Linked DNA regions of Homo sapiens: region 1 is linked to region 2. The links are contacts of gene promoters, found by promoter capture Hi-C in blood cells and fetal thymus (Javierre and others, 2016). All regions are on one chromosome and are shown on one strand. The core of a region is centred on a gene start or on the middle of the fragment in contact, and the rest is flanking DNA. Distances in the headings are between cores, read along the strand shown.

What was found. Contacts are between HindIII fragments. The CHiCAGO score rates a contact against its expected background, and 5 or more counts as called.
Region 1: a contact is called between a fragment that was not itself captured here and the fragment with the promoter of MANSC1 in region 2, in 1 of 17 cell types (neutrophils). The highest score is 5.9, in neutrophils.

The regions. Positions count from the first base shown.
Region 1 is chr12:12,584,106-12,586,805 of GRCh38, reverse strand. LOC107984486 (a long non-coding RNA gene) reads left to right here. Exons shown (of 3, transcript XR_001749010.1): 1 at 1-505. Among named protein-coding and RNA genes, the nearest start is that of DUSP16, 23 kb to the right of the region's middle. RefSeq lists an enhancer at 1,248-1,749. The HindIII fragment of the contact is 2,329 bases long and covers 92-2,420 here.
Region 2 is chr12:12,348,938-12,351,637 of GRCh38, reverse strand. MANSC1 (MANSC domain containing 1) reads left to right here and starts at 1,396. Exons shown (of 4, transcript NM_018050.4): 1 at 1,396-1,560. RefSeq lists a silencer at 1,086-1,395. The HindIII fragment of the contact is 5,175 bases long and covers 1-2,290 here.

The DNA.
Region 1 (2,700 bases), core at 7-2,506, 240 kb before region 2:
TTTTAGACCCCTAATTGGCATTTCCAAGCAGTTTAAATATGTTTTGAGAAAAAGGCAGTAAAAGAGACTAAATCTGGGGGAAAGCAAAGCTTCAGTAAAAATAGCATTCCAAATATTTCAGCTGGGATCTCTTTGTCTAACTAACAGAGATTTGGAGAGTGGATCAGAAGGCCTGCATCTCCTTCCCCTTCTGCAATTAGCCAGGTATATGCCCGTGGGCAAGCCATTGAACTGATCCTGGGCCACTGTTTCCTTACTTACAAGATGAAGAGGAGCCCCACCTTGCTACTTCCAAGAGCGTAGGAGCTGAGCACCTTTGGGTTGCCCTGGTTTGTGAAGGCCCCCTGAACTAAGAACACATTATATATTGATCAGGAAAGGAATTCGATATAGGCTTGGAGGTGATCTCTGTAAAGTCAGAAAGAGGATCCTAGGATTCTAAGGCCATATGCACAGGGCAGTGAGCAAGAACTGAAGTTACAGGACTCTCAGGTTCCTGTCTCAGGTAAGTCCCTTCCAGGTGTTGGCTGAGTTGCTCTATGGCTCATTTTCTTAATTGTGTCAAGCAGAAGAGGTCACAGAGGGTGGAGCATTGGCCAATGTGTCATGTTCTCAAAGTTCTGAAAAAAGGACAGAGGGAGCAGAAAGGCCAGAAGAGGAGTTTCCACAGCAAACTGACCACAACCAACTATCCCATTCCCTTCCCAGACTGGAAGGGACAAGGGCACCAGGTAGCTGCAGCCTCCATGGTTTCTTAAGTATCTTCATCCCTTTAGCACCATAGCCACCAACTTAAGCAAGGAAATCAAGATCTTTAACAAACAGGGGAAGTCCAGGAGATGGTAATTAGGTGAACTTTTGGAGATTTTGGGGGAATCCGTAGATGTTTATCTTTTCAAGAGATAGACTCCCTTTTAAATTTTGGTAAAATCTACATAAATGTCATTTACCATTTTAGCCATTTTTACATGTACAATTCAGTGGAGAGGCCCTTTTTGATAACTTTCATTCTCTCCCTGTGCTGATGTAGACTGTGTACTCCCTGCTAGGAAGATTCCTGGTTGTTCTGCAGGGTCATTCTGAGGGCGTCATCCAGTTAAGTGGATTTGGCTCCTGCAATAGGGGAATACCCCAAAATACCAGAAACAGGACAGGAAATTATTCTGTGGTCATTTATCCTTGATACTGATGAGATCAGATTTGCTGCTGCATCCCTTTAATTTTTATCTCTGCATTGTCCCTAACCACTTATCTTGACCTGTGGCTTGCCCTTGGGCCTGATCTCTTTCATTATAGTGCATTTTGGTTCTCTGCTGACTCCTGGCGCATTCTGATTATTAAAAAAAAACCCTATTTTTCTTGGGATGTGACTTGTCTGCCCCTTCAGTGGTCCTTGCAGAGCTTATTTGTCAGATACTATTGACAGCTTCTGCTCTCTACCTGAGCTCCAATCCCATTTCCCTGACTGCCTACTGGCCATTTCCTCTGGAATGTGCAGGTCATTGTTCTGCCAAGCAGATTGCAACATGTCCAAAAACAACCTTCTTCTTTTTTTTTTTTTTTTTTTGCCACAAATCAGCTGCTCATATAAACTGTCAGTCCCTGTCAATAGTCCATGAAGTTATTTAGATATAGAGAAGCAAATTCCTCTTTGATTTGATCTCCTCTTTCATCACTCTCAGCTGTTCAGCCCCTAGAACAATCAGGTTTTCCTTCAAATATTGATCTTGTTTCTGTCATTCCCTCTCTCCTATGCCCATTTCTAGGTCCTTACTTCCTCTAATATCATCTACTGTTCATGTCTACCCTTTCCCTGATTCAATTACCTGTGAAAGACTGAGGCCAGACCTAGACTACCTTCATTAATCAAATCATGTCTATTCAAAACCCTGAAGTTCTTCCCTATTCATATAGACTTCTTGCTCTTCTTTGCTGTCAAAATTTCCTCTAATCTGATCTCATACTAGACAATATTTCTGCCAGGTGGCTATATTGTAATGGGAAGTTTAATGGACTTGGAGTTAGTGGATCTGCTTTCAAATCCTAGCCCCGTACTCAGCAGAATGACCTTGGGCAATTCACTGACTCTCGAAACCTTGAATCCCCATTTGCAAAACTGGGGTGATAATACCTATGTCATAGGGAAGTTTATGAGATTGTAGTAATATCTGTGGAGACAGTTTAGCATTGTGCTCGGAACCCGTGTTTGGGCTGACTTACTTGGTTCAATACTAGGCTTTCCCACTCAGTAACTATGTGACCTGAAGCAAGTTCCTTAGCCTCTCTGGGTTTCATCAGTTTCATCTGTAAAATGGATACATTACCTATGAGGTAACATATACCTCATAGGTCTGTCGTGACAATTAAATGAGATAATATATGTAAAGCACTTTAACACAGTGCAAGGCACATTGTAAGCTTTAATAGGTGTAAACTATTATAATTATGCAGCAAGAGACCTAGTGTAATCAGCACTTGATATATGTTTGGTAAGTTTGTTTGTGTGAGACAGTGTCTCACTCTGTCACCGACACTGGTGTGCAGTGATCATAGCTCACTTGCAGCCTCGACCTCCCAGGATCAAGCTGTCCTTCCACCTCAGCCTCCCAAGTACTATACTCCCTGGGACTATAGGCGCACACCTTCACACCCCGCTAAATTGTTTTGTATTTTTGTAGAGAAAGGGTCTCACTGTGTTTC
Region 2 (2,700 bases), core at 147-2,646:
CGAGACTCCGTCTCTAAAAACAAACAAAACACAAAACAAAACAAAAAAAGAAACAGGTTCATTGTATTAAAGCACCGAATACGAAGTTTCTAATAATGGAAAGGTCTACTTTGTAACTAGCATGGATTACCCCATGTAGAGAGATTCAAAAACTGTGATAGCTCTACACCCTGAACCCTGAAGTGTATCAGATGATAAAAGATAAAACACACTTGCAGATCAGTCCCTTGTTGCATCAGGAAAATCACTGCAATGGGAAATTACTCTGGTGTTTACTTTTCTTTGGTAACTCTTTCAAACCTAGCTTTAGCAACATTGTAATTCAAGAGTCATCCTTTGGTTACAAGTAGAGTTAGTTTCACACAATGGACCTTTGTTCACAAGCATTCTCAGTCAACCTAATCCTCCTGTAGTTATTGGTTAAGACTAGGGTGTGTAGCTGTTGGCCGTACAGGCCTAGACTTAACTTGCAATTGCATAGCGCTTCAGGTCTGCAAGCTCTTTCAAAACAGAGGTGAAGATACTGTCAAAGGTTAGACCATATGGCAAACTAAGTGTCAATGGTTTAGTAACGTTGCATTTGTGTGTGTGTTTATGGAGGTGGGGATGGGGCCAGCAGTAATTTAGAAACTTCCACAACCTATGCCCTATGCAGTTCTTTTCCATTCATTCAGTCAACAAAAATATTTTAGTTAAATATTTACTGAGCACCTATTGTGTACCAGGCACTATGCTAAGTGTTAGGGATACAGTTTTAATATATGTTACAGACACCAGCATTTTCACCATTATTATCCTATCTACAAACAATAAATCCCGCAGAAAGCCAAATACCTTCCCTGAAGTTTGTCTTGCAGATAATATTTAACTCAAGAATTGCCATCTTTAATTGAGGACTCCATCCTCCAATTATGGAAAGAGGATTCTCAGAACTATGCCCCCAATAGGATGCACTATAAGCCCTTGAACATCAAAAAACTGCTCTCAGTGGTTGCCTCTGAGGAGGGAGACTAGGAGACTGGGGCACGGGGGTGAGGGGTAGACTTGTCTCTGTGTCTATTTTTGTACTGTTTGACATTTTCCCCATGTGCATTTATTTTAACTTGCGCGGGCCGCGAGGCAAGGCTCACCTGCAGACCCTCGGGCCACCAGCAGGGAGGCACGCACTCCCCCTCGCAGCGCGCCCAGCCCGGGGTCAGCGGTGTGGCTGAGCTGGGGGGGAGCGCGGGGCGGTGGGGGGAGCCACCTCCCTGCGGGGCTCAGCGCTGGGGCCGGGAGCCCGGAGCCTCCGCGGGGAGGGACGCGCTAATGTTGCCGGGAAGCAGCTCCGGGTTGCAGGGCAGGAACGTGCCCTTCCCCCGCGGCAAACTTGCCGTCGCTGCGACGGAAGCAGGAACTTGCTAACCACAAAACCCGCCAGGCCGGTGCGGGAGCTGCGGAGCATCCGCTGCGGTCCTCGCCGAGACCCCCGCGCGGATTCGCCGGTCCTTCCCGCGGGCGCGACAGAGCTGTCCTCGCACCTGGATGGCAGCAGGGGCGCCGGGGTCCTCTCGACGCCAGGTAAAGGGGTCTCCCCAATACCCACCCCCGACCGGCCGCAGGCGACGTCGCTACCTGCGGAGAGAGTCGGTCCCCTCCTTTCCAGGGGCCGAGGCTCCTTCACCCACACCCGAGCATCCAAAGGACCAGCTGGGGCCAATAAGGGCTGACCAGGATCCTTGAGTCGCTGCAGTATTCCAAAGGGGACCTCTAGGCGGGCTCAAGGCACCTGCCATAAATGGCTCTGGCTCTGCGTTGACATCAGAAGGAGAGGCAGAAGAATAGCTCAGTAGGCAACATGCATTTCCTCAAAGGAAGAGAAAATGTTCCCTGTTTTCTTGTCGTTGACTCTGTATTCATTATTGAAACTGCTAATTGTCTAATTCTCTGTAGAGTGTGTGTGTGTATACAGTTATAAGCATCTTGGTAAATTATAGTGTGCTGTAAGACGATTTCCAATATTTGAACTAATTACGTGCGAGTAAGTTTTAGCGACTCTTGTATGCAGACGTTAAAACTCAGGGGCATCCTCTCTCACCCGCCTGTATCCTTTTACCCCGTCTTTCAACAAGATTCAACTCGACTTCAGGCCCTTAAAGCCTAAATAATAATGGATTAGAAAACGTCGCTAACCTAATATTGCTGAGCCTCTTTAATGATATAAAACTCTTAAACACTTCTCTCAATGCTGCATACTGAAAACAACTCCTGCCCCATCTCCTTACATAGTTCAGGTTTCTTTGCAAAAGCTTGAAAAGAGGCTACATTAGAATCCATTCAAAATAAAGTATTGGCCTGGTTTTCTCTTGATTCCCTAGAGGCTTGCAAAATATGGCAGCGTATTAAGTACCTTGGCCAGAATTATTAACCTGGGGAGTCCACGATAAGGTATCCATGGATAGAATTCAGGATGTCTGTGAACTTGAGTGGAAAAAATTATTATTTCACCGACTTCTGAAATGGAATGTAGGCAAAAGCCACAGTAGTATTAGCAGTAGCTATGATTTGCCCCCTGTAAATATTGCCGATATCTTTATATCACATGACTTGTTGCACGTTTCAAAATATTATCTATACTCAATACCACGTCAAAATTATGGCAGTTATTAGATGACCACTTGTTACTTAATAGGTTAATAAAGAAGCACATATTATGTCCCA